Regions from separate parts of the Homo sapiens genome. Here all the other regions are linked to region 1. Evidence: promoter capture Hi-C in 16 types of primary human blood cells and fetal thymus (Javierre and others, 2016). All regions are on one chromosome and are shown on one strand. The core of a region is centred on a gene start or on the middle of the fragment in contact, and the rest is flanking DNA. Distances in the headings are between cores, read along the strand shown.

Region 1 (3,556 bases), core at 955-3,454:
ATTAGATGGGGTTTTGTAGAGATGAGGTTTCACCATATTGGCTAGGCTAGTCTCGAACTCCTGACCTCAGGTGATCTGCCTGCTTTGGCCTCCCAAAGTGCTGGGATTATAGACATGAGCCACCACACCCGGCCTCAAAGGCATATTTTAATTTCCTATTCTTAGAATTTTAGAATGTTAGAGCTAGAAAGGTAATCACATCTTCTAACTCAATTCCAGACTTACTGAATTGGAATTTCTGGGGTAAGATCTGTGAATCTATAAGAATTCTAGTATCTAACATGAGGATCCACTGGTCCACAGGCCCTCTTAGCATATGTCAAAGCAGGGTATCATTTTACAGGTGAGACGACTGAGGCCCAGGAAAGCGAAGTGATGGTCATATGAATCGGTGACAGACATGAGTCAAGTGCACGGCACCCAGCTTTCTTAGTAAATTAACTGACTGTTGGGAGACAGGAAGGGCAGGGACAGGTGTTCATTAACTAGTTTCTGTTCACACTATACAGTAGGAAATGAGCGCTAGGTATAGAGAAACGGACGATATAAGAGATTTACCTCAAATAATAACAACATCCCTCTCTTACCTGTTCTGGGATTTCACAGTTCACTAAGCACTTCCCCTCATAATACCTTGCTTTGATTCTAATAACAAGATTTACCAAGGTGGTATTGTTTTCTACATTTACTTTACAGATGAGAAAATGGAGGCACAATCACTGGGTATGTCAGGTCAATAAAAGGGGTAGAGCTGAGATTTGAATACTTTCTACTACTAAACCTCACACAGATCCCCTAAGACAGGCAATGTCTTTGTCATTTAAGACAAATGGGCTGGGCGCAGTGGCTCACACCTGTAATCCCAGCACTTTGGGAGGCTGAGGCAGGTGGATCACTTGAGGTCAGGAGTTTGAGACCAGCCTGGCCAACATGGTAAAACTCTGTCTCTACTAAAATTACTAAAATCAGCCAGGCATGGCGGCATGCACCCATAATCCCAGCTATTTGGGAGGCTGAGGCAGGAGAATCATTTGAACCCAGGAGTCAGAGGCTGAAGTGAGCCAAGATTACACCACCACACTCAGTCTAGGCAACAGAGTGAGACTCTGTCTCAAAAAAAAAAAAAAAAAAAAAAAAAAAAAAAAAAAGGAAGGAAGGAAGAAGGGAGATTATTTATTGTTTCAAAAGTCACACAAATTCTACATTATTATTTTAGAAAATTCAAATCATTCTGAAAAATAGAGATTAAAAAGCTGAAAAGTGTATTTCATGCCACTCTGCTCCTGAACAGTTTGGTGACTTTTTAAGTTTCCTTCCCAGACCTTTATGAGTTTACATACATGTACAGGTAAGGATGAAAAAAAAAAAAATCAAACTACACACATTGCTGTGCTTCCTTTTTCTTAGCATGTCTGGTCCATTTTTTCAAATCCTTTAGTAGACTTGTTTGTTTTTAAATGAGCCATGTTTGAAAATAGAACAATAGCAACATTCATATGCACACTGATAGAGAAATGTTATATTTATCACCAATGGTGCTCAGGATGGCTCAGGATGTTGGTGCTCAGGATGGGGTAAAGTGACTCTTTAAGTCTCATGACTAATCTTCTCTCAAGAGGAGGGGCTATGGAATCAGAATCACAAGCTAGCTTAATAAAGCCTTGAGAAATATTATCAAATAGCTGTCTTAGTTTCCCCCTCTGTAAAAGGGGGACAAGAATGTGTTCCATAGGTTGTAGTGCGGTTAAATGAGGTAACTCATATTTATGCTAAACACAATGACTGATGACTACAATGATGACGATGATGGCAGCCGGGCGCAGCGGGTGGGGCTTAAATGGCAAGTATAGCAATACCAGGAATGGATGCCCCGGGGAGATACTTTTTATTAAGAGCTGCCAAGTTAGTATGGCTGTCTGGGATGTCCTCTGGAGACAGCCGACTCCGGGTTTGGAAACCTCAACGTCCTAGGCTTTCAGGACCTAGTGTTTGGCTAAACCTCTGGAGAACTACAACTTCCAGGGTGCACCACTTTCGCCCCGCCCATGACGTTGCAGCTCCCGTTTCTCGCCAGGCTCCCGGCCCGAACTACAAATCCCAGAAGACACTGCAGCCCCGCTCGCGTTCTCGTCTCATCATTCTTACTTTTGGAAGCGAAACTGCGGCCGCGTTGCCTGCTGGGAAATGTAGTTCAGCGGTGGCCTAGCCCTTCAGGCCTGGCCGCTACAATAAGGCTGGCGAACTCGCAGCGCTTGAATACCCGTGGCCTAACCGTCCACTCGGAAGACCGGTCCCGCTCGGGAGGCTCTGCAGTCGCGCCTGGGGTCAGGGCCGGGGGCGAATGTGGCTCGCGTTCTAGGCCTCCCTGGGTGAGAAAGTGGTAGACTGGCAGGAAGGCGGCGGAGGCGGACGAGACCAATGCCAGCCTGGAGGAGGAAGTGGGCCAATGGGAAGGGTGAATCCAAGTGGAGATCGTAGGGGTGGGAGTGGGGCGTGGCGCCCGCTTACCTTGAGGCTGGGTGAGGCTCGCCCCGAAATGCGGGGCGTGGGGGGCGGGGGGCAGAGGTCCCTGCCTAGAGGGGAAGAGGGGCGTCCATGTGGCGGAATGGATTTATGGTTTGGGGCTGATCAGTGGGTCTTATGGCCGAGTCTCTCTGGTTAGTGGAGACAGCTTACCAGGCCTGGGATCTGGGGAGTTTGGAGGTGCAGGAGATCCCTGGTTGGAAACTTAGGCAGGAGTGTGTTACCCAGAGAGACTGAGGGCTTCTGCTGTGCACCTCCAAAACCTTTTCCTAACCTCTTCACCCCTTCCTAACTGCTAATGGTTGGAGAAGGTGGAAGTTCTCTGGGGATAGATACTTCGTGGTGGGGGAGGGGGGAGGGGGGTTGGGTTCTGGCCAAAGGGAGCCCCAGCAGGGAAGGAAGGCTTTGAACCCTATAGCTGCCCAGAGGCCTAAGCAATGCTACTGGAGTACCCCTACATCATCATTGTAACCGTTACACAGCATTACATTAGATGCAGCCTATTTAGTCTGAACCAAGCCAGACAAATTGGTGTGTCCTGCCCGCTGCTTCTAAAATATTGTAAACATGTCTCAGCTCATAGGAAAATAAATGTTCCGGGTAAATTCATGGAAAAAAATAATCAGGGTGCAATATGGAATGTTTACAATGATCCTACTTTATAATAAATTCTTATATCTCCTAAATATGTGCCATTTTGTTATGGATGAAAAAAAATCCGAACTATATACTCTAAATTATTAATTTCAACTGTGGTTATTGATGGCTGGTAAGATTACAGAGTAATTTTATTCTTTTTTGTTTACATCTTTATGTAGCATCTTAATTTGCACAGTGAACACATAATTTTTTTTTTTCTGCTCCTTATTTTCCCAGGAGAGTCAGTCAGTTGCTCCGTGTGTTGTGTTGGAAGTCAGGTCCTAAGGCCAGCTGCTCTGGCTTGCACTGAGCCACAGGCAGACTGATTTGCCAGGAATGATAAAAAGGGGTGAATGTGAGGGGAGAATTCAGTGTGCAGGCTATGGGAGGCTAA
Region 2 (3,756 bases), core at 506-3,005, 2.3 Mb after region 1:
TAAGTTGGTTGGGGTGGTACTTAAAATTTTTATTTCTCAGTCTCAAAAATGTCATTTTACAGTTTGTTTGAATCAGGATCCAAACAAGCTGCACTCATTGCATTTGAATATATTTCTTTTTTTTTTCTCAAGAGGGAGTCTTGCTCTGTTGCCCAGGGTGGAATGCAGTGGCACAATCTTGGCTCACTGCAACTTCTGTCTCCTGGGTTCAAGCGATTCTCCTGTCTCAGCCTCCTGAGTAGCTGGGGGCTACAGGTGTGCACCACCATGCCTGGCTAATTTTTGTATTTTTTGTTGGAGACGGGGTTTCACCATGTTGCCCAGGCTGGTCTTGAACTCCTGACCTCAAGTGATCCTCAGAGTGTTGGGATTACAAGTGTGAGCCACTGTACCTGGCCAACATTTGAATATATTTCTTAAATCTCTTATAATCTAAAACATCTCTCCTCATTTTTATACCCTAAAATTGTTGAAGGAAGAAGAGGTCATTTATTCTGTACATTGGCTCACATTCTGGATTTGTTTGATTGCTTTCTTGTAGTGTTATACAGTTGTTTCTCTTTATTTCTTGTTAACTGGAAATTACAGCCAAAACTTGATTAGAGTCACTCAACTTTTTTTTTTACAAAAATACGCTATACTTCATAAATATTTCTGTTCAATTGCATCACATCAAGAAACAATGCTCAGCTGTCCCATGTTTCGTGATCTAAGATTGATTAGTACATGTAGGTTATCTTCAGTGTACATCCTTCAGTGTAAAATTCTCCCATAAATTATCTAATACTTTTAGCATCCATCAACGACTGTTGACTAAATAAGTTATTTATTGAGATCCTTCCTCTGGTCCAGACTGTTTTCATCAGATTAGTTTTATCTTTGTCCCCTTTATTTCTGTAGCCAATTGCCTAGGAAAGATCCTTTCATCTTCCAGCTTTCTTAGATCTCCAAATCTCTCAGGTCTACGGACATCTGAGGCAGGAGCGCGATCTGGCTTGCCTGGGGAGCTAACGAGATAAGGAATTGAGTCAGTATTTCCTAACGTTCACACTTGAAGCCCATAAAGCAGGCAGGTGGTTTTAATTTTGCCCCGCTGGGTGGGTTGGGGTTAGGGAAGGATGGGTTAGAGGGAGGCAGAGTGAATCGGGCAATCTCCCCTTTCCTGCGGTCAAACTCAAAGGCTTTTTCTAGAAATCCTTCAACTGAGCCTGGGCCCTTTGATTTTCAATTGAGGCAAGGCCAAAGAGTCCAGGCCAGGCGTGGGGGCTCCCGTTGTAATCCCAGCGACCAGGAGGCTGATGCAGGAGGATCACTTGAGGCCAAGAGTTTAAGACCAGTCTGGGTAACATAGTGAGACCCTGTCCTGAGAAAAAAAATTTAAAAATAGCCCAGCATGGTGGCGTGCCTGTAGTCCCAGCTACTCGGAAGGCTGGGGGCGGGCGGATCGCTTGAGCAGGAGTTCAAGTTCGCAGTGAGCTATGATCACGTCGCTGCACTCCAGCCTGGGCGACAGAGCGAGATTCTGTCTCTAAAAAAGAAAACAGTCCATAGGGAGTAGGTGGAATTAGAGTAGAAAGAGAGAGTCCTGGATGCTCCGAATGGAGCCTTTCAGAGCTTTAACCACGGGACTACATCTCCCAGAATTCCGCTCGCCGGATCCCACCGCACTGAAGGGACTGCGCGTGCGCGAGTCAGGTGACGACCCGCCCCTACAGGCCCCAGAACCCCCGAGATTCCCCGCGCTTGCCTCCCGCCCTCTTCTTCCAGACTCTCGGTCTGTCCGCTGGGGGCGCGCGCGGTGTGTGGCAGGCGGCAGCGGCGCTGGCGGCCGAGTGCGCTTGTCACGCGTGGCGGTGCGTGGTTGCTAGGGGCGCCTGAGGCTGCCGGGTAGCCCAGCAGGCCGAGGGAGGAAGTAGCGTGGAGCCGGTGCCGAGCCGGGGCGAAGCTGGATCCCCTAGGTGAGTGCGGCTGCGGAGCCAGGGGAGCCGACCCCAGACACTCCGCCGGTCCCACGCTCCCGACCTCCCTCTACCTGAGTCCTTTCGCGCGGGTCCCCAGCCCTCCGGCCACTCTCACCCTAGCCCCGCTTCCTCCCGCCACCTCTCATCCCCCGGGAGGCCAGGGAGCCGCGGCCTCCTACCCGGCCGGGACTTCGCGCCTCCTCGGAGCCCTTCTCCTCTCCGCCACGCCCCGCGAACTTAGTCGGCCTCGCCTCCGGGTGCCCGAACACTGCCTCATCCCCTAGTTATGGCCTCCGAGCTTCCTCTGTCCTGCCGCGCTGAGGTTTAAATTCCCTCTGGGTGTGAGCCCAAGCTCCTCGCAGGCTCCAGGGCCGAATTTAACATGGATATCTGCTTTTTCACTTCTCCATCCTCAGTATCTGTAGAAGAATACGTTCCTAAACTCCACAGATTCAAACAGGATCTGAGATCCTGTGGAATTTAATTCTTCATTCATCAATTCCTTTATTTAATCATTCACTAAACAATTTTTAGTAAACATTGACAAATATTTAATGAGCCTGGGTACAATGGGAGGGATTGAGGGGATAGAGTGGCTAATAGGACAAGCATGTTTTCACGGAATTTACAGTCTAGGAGATTATTAATCAAGTAAACGAGCATTTGCCATACTGTGGTGTGTGCTGTGATAGAACAGGAAATACTTAATCCGGACTTACTTAGAAAACGACATTATTGCCATTCCTCCTGGTCTTCACATTCCCATTCTGGATCTCGGAAATATTTTAATCCTTCCTTGATGAAATCTTCTTTGCTTTCTCAGATACTACAAATCACCTATTCTTTAACTGCAGCACCTGTTGATTTAGCATTTGGGGGACCCTTTGGGACAGTGTTCCATCCCATCCTTCTGTTTCTTGCACTGAATACTGAGACACTGTTTGCATTTAAACCACCCACTTTGTGCTCAGAAAGTTAGCAGCTACTTATATTGGACTGAATCAATCCTTGAAAAATTATCAAGTGTTTTCTGCGAATAGAGAGGTGGGAGGACATTCCAGATACACAGTGGCTTTAGGAAAGGGACAGCAAGTCCTGAAAAGAGAACTGGAAACAGTTTGACAGACCTGGGCTAGATTTGGAGGGAGCCATCCAGTAACAAATAGAAAGAGTGAAGTTAATAGGGGTTAGATCACAAAGGGCCTTGGATGTTTTGCTGAGTTAGAACTATATCCCTGGAGCAGTGGTTTTCAAGCTGGAGTAATCAGGGTTGTAGACTTCCAAGGGATACACTTGCACGTCTAGCTTAACATGAATACATTTCCAGATCCTCAGCTTCCCAGTGAACTTTTTTTTTTTTTTTTGAGACAGAGTCTTGCTCCGTCACCCAGGCTGGAGTGCAATGGCACGATCTTGGCTCACTGCAACTTCCACCTCCTGGGTTCAAGCGATTCTCCTACCTCATTCTCCGGAGTAGCTGGGATTAGAGGCGCATGCTGCCACGCTCGGTTAATTTTTTGTATTTTTTAGTAGAGACGGGGTTTCACCATCTTGGCCAGGCTGGTCTCAAACTCCTGACCTCGTGATTCACCCGCCTCGGCCTCCCAAAATGTTGGGATTACAGGTGTGAGCCACCGCGCCCGGCCCCAATGAACTCTTTTTCTAAAACTTCCCTTACAAAAAAAGGGTAGGAGGCTGTGTGTGGCAAATCCCTCACACTTCCCAAATTTTAATATGGTGTATTGGCCTGAGTGTAAAAATGTCCTCAGATACAAATAAGGACTACTTTGGAAAT
Region 3 (3,631 bases), core at 1,132-3,631, 2.2 Mb after region 1:
ATCTCTGAACCAGATGATGTGCCATTCTCCAGACCCACCACATTCTCTTTTGCTTTCATACCCTCACAGCCTTTTGCGTCTCTTGGCTTGATATGCCTTTTCCCCTTCTCAATCTCTCTCTCTTATCTGGCTAACCAATTAACTATCCTTGAAGAAGCTGCACAAATGTCACTTCCACCATGAAGGCCTCCTGACATTCTTTTTTTTGAGACAGTCTTAGTCTGTCACCTAGGCTGGAGGGCAGTGGCACGATCTCAGCTCACTACAACCTCTGCCTCCTGGGTTCAAGCGATTCTCCTGCCTCAGCCTCCTGAGTAGCTGGGATTACAGGCATGTACCACCACGCCTGGCTACTATTTTGTATTTTTAGTAGAGATGGGGTTTCTCCATGTTGGTTGGGCTGGTCTTGAACTCCAGAACTCAGGTGATCCACCTGCCTCGGCCTCCCAAAGTGCTGGGATTACAGGCGTGAGGCACCGCGCCGGGCCTGGCTTCCCGAAACTCTTATCTTCTCTCTTCTGGCGTCCTAAGGGCACTCTGTACACAGCCCTATCAGAAACGAGGTCACACTGCACTGTTGTTTACCTGTCAGTCTCTCTCCCTAGATGTATAGCTTTTTTAGTAATTTGTTGACATTATCACTTCAATGATATTACTTTGTGATACTGACATTATCACTTCAACGAACACAAATCACCCACAATCGAAGATTCCAGTGAAGAACCACAGATATGGAGCTGCATTGGAGTAAAGCTAGGTATCTTGTACAAAACCAGTGGTTCCTCACCTATAACGTAACACATTTGGAGAAATTTCAAACTCATTAACTGACTATGGCCTCAAACTAAATATGGGAACATAACTGAGGAATGAATGACAATTGAATTGCATACCCTGTTATACATGGCTAAAATGAGTTTAAGCTGAATAATTAGTAATTAATAAGAATGATGGGAATCACTTCATGAAATTGAGTCACAGACAAGATGCAAAAAGAAAAAAAGAAGAAGAAACCAGGCCGGGCGCGGTGGCTCAGGCCTGTAATCCCAGCACTTTGGGAGGCCAAGGCGGGCCGATCACCTGAGGTCAGAAGTTCGAGACCAGCCTGGCGAACATTGTGAAACCCTGTTTCTACTAAAAATACAAAAAATCAGCAGGGTGTGGTGGCACACGCCTGTAATCCCAGCTACTCGGGAGGCTGAGGCAGGAGAATCGCTGGAACCCGGGAGGCGGAGGTTGCAGTGAGCCGAGATCGCACCATTGCACCCCAGCTTGGGCAACAAGAGCGAAACTCCGTCTCAAAAAAAAAACAAACAAAAACCAAGATCCTGCAATCTGATAGTCCCTATTTCCAGAATCCCATGGACTCAAAACAACAGATCACAGGGATTCACAAGGTGGCTGGAAAGTGCACTCCCGTGGTCAGAGGGATTCTCTGGAAACTGCAGCCTCCACTTACTGAATATTATCGCTGTTCTGGGGAATCTTCAAGCTTGACCATACATGGCCTCCGGGGGGAGCCAAGGAGGACGCTGAGCCGTCAAGATTAAGAACCTTCACCTGCGGGAGGGCAGGGTGAGGTAGGAGACAGGTGGGCACCAGAGAAGAAATACGCTTATCTTCCGGGCAGGAGGGCTGAGGAAGAGAAAGGACAGACTAAGGCAGAGAGAAGGCCTGGAGAAACAACGGGCCCCGGCCTAGCGACCCAGGTTCCCACCTGCCTCTGGCTCTGACTCACCGCGTGGTCTTGGACAGACACAGTCGCTTCGCTTCTCTGGGCCTCAGCTTTCCTATCTGTAAAATGGAGGTGATGACAGTGTCCACATCGTCGGGCAGGAGCTGGATCATAAGAGCCAGCGAACTGGAAAGGCGGTTTGTAACCTGGAAGGCTTGGGATGGAGCATCGTCATGATTTTGTCCTGAGAGCAGCAGGTACCCGGGCGGGGTCCAGAACCGTGACGCGACTGCAGCGCCGGGGCCCAGCTCGTCTGGGTGCTCCCTTCAGTACCTCCTTCCGAGAGTTCCCAGCGCCCAGGCCCACCCTGATCCCGGGGCTCGAAAAACTTTGCCTCCAGCTCGCTCCACCCGCATTCCCTTCCCAGTTCCGCCCCGCAGCCGCTCACTCACCTCCAGACCCAGAGCCGGCGGGAGCCGCATCTCTATGGTCGGCCGCGGCTGGAACGGCCCCCGGGGCCCGCTTTGTGCGACCGCCTCCGGCTCAGCCGCCTCTAGGATATTGGGGATGTGGAAGCCACTCTCTCTTCCTCTTGCCGGCTGCCGGGGTACTCTATGTTTTGTCTCTGTGGTTTTTCCCGCCCTCCACCCCCACTCCAGCCCTGAAGCCGGAGAAGCACCATCGAGAGCTCTGGGGTAGAGTGGCGTGGGCTTCTCTGTGGGTGTGGCGGGAAGTAGATGAAAGGACCCGGGGCGGGGCCGAACGCAGCTTCCCCAAGGTGCAGGCGCGGTGAAACCATCGAGACGGAGGGCCAGAGAGTCACGGCGGTGAGAGGGCTGAGTGACGGGTTACCCCAAACCATGTGGCTGGAGGCGCGAGCTGGGGTGTGGGCGAGGTTCAGGAGGGGGTTCCTGGGTGTCGCGGAGGGGCCGGGGACGGGAGAGCTTTGTCTGTGGCCTTCCATGCATAGGTGTTTTGGAATTCTGGATCCCAGTTCTGAGGCTCAGCCGAGGTCACTGCTGTCAGCTCACCTCCCTGCATGCCAGGCGCAGGGCAAAGTGGCCGGGGTTCGGGGTTGGAGGAGAGGTGTACTAGAAACAACTTTGCTCTTGTCCCTCAGGATCTTATTGTCTACGATGTGACGATCCGTGGAGAAAGTAGCAGATGGGCAGATTTTCATTTGGGGAGAATGAGGGAGAAAAGAACGGGCATTCCGAGCCAAGAGCACTGCATGAGCAAGGAGTTGGGAGGTTGCTTACTTGTTGAACATATTTGTTGCGTATTTGCATATTTGCTAAACAGGTAGTGTTAGGAGCTAATCCATGAAAGGTAGGTGGGCGCCGTATTGTAGAGAGCCTTGAGTACCAGGCTGAGTTTATACCCAATTCAGGGGTCTGCTGGGAGCCAGCCATTGAAGGTGCTGGAGCAGAGAGAGATATGGTATTGGAGCTGATCCCTATGATGAAAGATCTGGACCCTTGTGTAGATGTTCCGTGAAGCAGGAGGTGAAGACCTATTAAAATGCCATTTCAAGAACTACGATTTTAAAGACAGTTTAGGTGGGAGGTAATAAAGGTCTAAACAAGACGTTAAATATTGGGGACGTAAGGGGGAGGATATTTGAAGGACATTACTCATAACAAGACATAGGGTTACTGACAAGTCAACGGACGCTTCTCCCTTGCTGACTGCAGCCAATGGACCCCTTTTTATCATAGCTGGTCCCAGGGACCACAAAAATCCTGTCCATCCATTACCCTGATGTGAAGCCTGTTTATATAGCTCTTTTTGGTTTAAGGCATCTCCAGACATGGTCCTCTGGTAGGAAACAGGTATGAGTAGACTAATGAAGGACAAAATGGGATGAGGGACCTGGAGCCTCCACCCTTGCATTCCAATACCACCCTTACCCCACAAAAGGAGGGTATTGACCCACACAGTAATGCTGACCTGTGG
Region 4 (3,414 bases), core at 30-2,529, 2.7 Mb after region 1:
TGCATATATATATATGCATATATATATGCATATATATATGCATATATATATGCATATATATATATGCATATATATACATATACGTGGTGATCTTTCTTTATGGCATCCTCAAAGCCTTGTGTTTGGAGGATGGTGTTTCCGTCACATTTCCCACATGCTGCTCTTATGGGGACAGAAGTGGTCATGGGATGATTAAGCTAGTCCTAGCCGGACAAGAGCTCCACAATGCCAAAGGTCACAAACGCGAATAAAGTCGCCACTTTCATCTCCCTTATAGGCACTCCCCAGTGTACTCTTAACAGTTGCCAAAATTGGGTTTACTATTCTAGCCCATTCCTTCGGAAAGCCCGGAAGCTCAGAACCCTCAAATTGATGGGTTTTGTTTGTCTGTTGGGTAAAGGGGGAGGAGTTTAAAATGTGGCCAGGAGTAACGGGCCCTATAAAAAGGCCTGACACATTGGGCACCAGACCCCGGCTGCCTGCTCCCACCACACGCGTCCCGTTCTGCGTCCGAAGCTTCTACACTTCATCCTTTTCTTTTTTCCTTCAAGGCTGCCTCTAACATTCACATTAACGAGATTCACGGGTTTATTTCTCTTGAGTGGAGGGGCGCTGAGCGGCATCCCGGCGGAGGGGTCCCTTGAGAACCTTTATCTGCACCGAGTCCGCTCCTCAGCAGTGACCCCTCTGGGCAGTTCCTCCGACGCCCTGCAGAGGGCAGTAGAGGCCCAGAGAGCATCCCGGCTGGGCCCCGCCCGGTCCCCCTGGGACAGCGCGAACCCTAGGTCCCACCACAACCATAGCCCCACCCCAGGAGCCGCCAGGCGTCCCGCTTCCACCCGCCCCAGCTATAACAGCCTTCGCTGTCCGCCTTCCCATTTCTACAGCACTGGCTGCACTGGGGCGCGGCTTCAAGGGGCAACAAAGCCGGCCACCAGCGGCTTCGTCGCACCAAACAGGCGACCAACGAGTACCTTCACTCGAGCCCTACCATCCACGCCGGGCAGCAGCCAGCGGACTGCGCACGCGCGGCCCCGCCCACCCCTCCCCCGGAGGCCTGCCCTGGACCCCGGCAGCGCGCGCTCCCTCCAGGGAGAAAAGGCCAGCGCCAGGGCCAACCCGCAGCGTCTGAGCAGCCCCTCGCTGGCTTGCTCCTGCCCGGACTCGAACGCGATTCCACCTACCGTCAGCGGCCGCGAGAGCGCCCACTCTCTTAGCCGCACGCACGCTTTCCTGCCCGCTCGCGCAAACCGAAAGGCCTAGAGTAAGAGGCCGCTTTCCCCCCACCGCAAGAGGAGGCAGGGTCTTGGGATACAGGGGCGGGGCCTATGCCTGGCGTGGGCGGGGCTTCTGGGCCTGGGACACTGATGAGAGGAGCGCCCCAGTGGCCAGGGTAAGTGGAGGAGAGGCCGGGCAGCCGGCTAGTAGAAGGGTAGTGGCGCGTCTTGGAGTCACGCTGGCCGAGTGGAAAGAATAGCGGGCGAGGCGCAGGAGAGGGGAGCCCAGGTTTGGATTTGTCAAACTTGAGTCACTTCTCTTCCCTCCCCTACCTATCCGGTCTCTTTTTAACAAAATAAGGGATTGAACTTCTGTAGATGATCTCTCAGGTCCTCCACCAGCACTAGAGTTGTTGAAGGAAGGAGTCTCCCAGGCATAAGTCCCATAGTCCGACCTCATCCTTTACCTCTCCTGCTTCATTTCTCCATCATCCCCGTACTTATACTCCCTCACTACTGAGAAATTTGAAACCCCTCACCTATCTTGGACTTTGTACAACCCATGGCTTTGCTCAAGCTGGACCCCGAACCTGAAAACTTCTCTGCATCCATTTTCCAAAACCAAAAATCCTCATTTGTCAAGGCCATCCTCATTGCTTCTTGCATAAAGCCTTTCCCACTGTCCCCAATCAGAATTCATTATCCCTTCCTCTTTGCTCCCACGGCATTATTTTAATCTTTATTACAGACTGCTTTCTGCTTTGCATTTTCGTTAGTAATTACAAAGGTCTTTTTAAACCGTAAATGCCTTGAGACGGCATGGACCCTGTCTTATCCCTGTAGTTCCAGGACCTTGCACATGGGAGATGCTCAGTAAGTATTAAAGTGAATGCTGGGGTTCAAGTGGCATTGATAGTACACAGGCAAAATCTCAATCATTCATGGTCCACTAAATCATGGCCTCTGCTCTGGAACAGTTAGGCCTAATTAAGACAAGGAAAGGCAACCCACCCTATTGGGAAATGGAACCTCTAGACAGTCCCATGTAATACACACACACATATCCTCTGCCTACAAGAAAGAACAGTTTGGGAGCTGACTCTCCAGCAGATGAGAGTTAGGGCTAAATTAACCAGGGCAGAAGTAGGCGTTCTGGTCATTTCTGGGACCTAAACCCTTCTCTGCTAGATTCAGGGCATGGCTCCCCTGAGCCAGGCAGCAAGTCTGCCATCTCTTCTGGCTCAGAGGAGCCTCCTTCCTCATCCCCAGGGTCTTCAGGCAGTGGGCAGAGGCAGTGGAGAGGCTGGGGGATGCAGGGACAGAGGTTTTGGATGGGGAAAGGAAGTCTGTACACTTGAGCAGCCTTCTCCCTGGGCTTCTGAGGCATTCGAGCCTCTTGGGCAGTGAAAGGAGATGGTAGCCCTTGACCTAGGCCTCGCTCAAGCTGTGTGCCTGCAAAAGAGAGGTTTGTCAGGCTATTGCCCATCCCAGGGAGGGATGGCTTCCTGGCCACTCCCCAGTCTGCTAGGGCCTAGCCTCAACTTACCAGGAATCGTGTTCTCTAGTAGGAAGCCTGAGAGTCCAGCCAGGAAGATGGGCTGTGTCAGCAGTGAGTGCAGTAATACATCCAAGGGGCTCCAGCCTATGAAGAGTTGGGGCCAGGCAGGAAGGGAACTCTGATCCTATATCCAAGCCCAGGAGTCTTACCCTCCCAGACCTAAACCTAAGCCTTGGACTAAGGACAGATCTTTCTGAATTGTCATTTCATCCCTCTCACCCTTTGTCTTTCTACTCTCCACTTTCCAAATCCAGGCCTTTCCCACAGGATTCCTGCTCAACACCCTGTGTTCTGATCATCCACACACCCTCCATATATGCTTTGACTATTCCAGGTTCCCTTTCTCTAGAAAGCGTAATATTTAAGTCCCAACCTCATCTCCCATTTTTTACCCTCTATGCTCTATCCTGGGTTTTTCAACCTCAGTCCTACTGACATCTTGGACCAGATAATTCTTTGTTGGGGGTGGTGGTGCAGGGGGGATGTCCTGTACAGTGTAGGATGTTTAGCAGCATCTTTCTATCCACTAAACCCTAGTAACAACTCCCTCTTCCTCCATTTGTAACAGCCAAAAATGTCTCCAGACATTGCCAAATGTCCCCATGGGGGCAAAATCACCCAGTTGAGAACTGGGTGAGA

The links. The method cuts DNA at HindIII sites, captures the fragments that hold promoters and counts their contacts. A CHiCAGO score of 5 or more calls a contact.
Region 2: the fragment with the promoter of TTLL4 here is called in contact with the fragment with the promoter of SMARCAL1 in region 1 in 1 of 17 cell types (neutrophils); the score reaches 7.5 in neutrophils.
Region 3: the fragment with the promoter of ZNF142 here is called in contact with the fragment with the promoter of SMARCAL1 in region 1 in 1 of 17 cell types (neutrophils); the score reaches 6.3 in neutrophils.
Region 4: a contact is called between the fragment with the promoter of NHEJ1 here and the fragment with the promoter of SMARCAL1 in region 1, in 1 of 17 cell types (neutrophils). The highest score is 7.6, in neutrophils.

What each region holds. Positions count from the first base shown.
Region 1 is chr2:216,410,280-216,413,835 of GRCh38, forward strand. It overlaps SMARCAL1 (SNF2 related chromatin remodeling annealing helicase 1), which reads left to right and starts at 2,205. Exons shown (of 18, transcript NM_014140.4): 1 at 2,205-2,369. SMARCAL1-AS1 (SMARCAL1 antisense RNA 1) reads right to left here and starts at 2,221. Exons shown (of 5, transcript XR_001739881.1): 1 at 2,146-2,221. RefSeq lists enhancers at 1,967-2,261, 2,005-2,094, 2,225-2,314. The HindIII fragment of the contact is 8,553 bases long and covers 1-3,556 here.
Region 2 is chr2:218,709,080-218,712,835 of GRCh38, forward strand. TTLL4 (tubulin tyrosine ligase like 4) reads left to right here and starts at 1,756. Exons shown (of 20, transcript NM_014640.5): 1 at 1,756-1,958. It overlaps LOC124907983 (a long non-coding RNA gene), which reads right to left and starts at 2,405. Exons shown (of 2, transcript XR_007088089.1): 1 at 2,141-2,405; 2 at 523-1,007. RefSeq lists an enhancer at 1,558-1,657 and silencers at 2,038-2,087, 2,098-2,147. The HindIII fragment of the contact is 11,438 bases long and covers 1-3,756 here.
Region 3 is chr2:218,657,242-218,660,872 of GRCh38, forward strand. ZNF142 (zinc finger protein 142) reads right to left here and starts at 2,382. Exons shown (of 11, transcript NM_001379659.1): 1 at 2,128-2,382; 2 at 1,739-1,889; 3 at 1,460-1,635. BCS1L (BCS1 ubiquinol-cytochrome c reductase complex chaperone) reads left to right here and starts at 2,442. Exons shown (of 8, transcript NM_001079866.2): 1 at 2,442-2,502. RefSeq lists enhancers at 1,506-1,625, 2,436-2,565. The HindIII fragment of the contact is 10,571 bases long and covers 1,491-3,631 here.
Region 4 is chr2:219,159,536-219,162,949 of GRCh38, forward strand. NHEJ1 (non-homologous end joining factor 1) reads right to left here and starts at 1,280. Exons shown (of 8, transcript NM_024782.3): 1 at 1,185-1,280. SLC23A3 (solute carrier family 23 member 3) reads right to left here. Exons shown (of 12, transcript NM_001144889.2): 11 at 2,764-2,859; 12 at 1,930-2,669. The coding sequence ends at 2,374. RefSeq lists a silencer at 945-1,064. The HindIII fragment of the contact is 12,472 bases long and covers 515-3,414 here.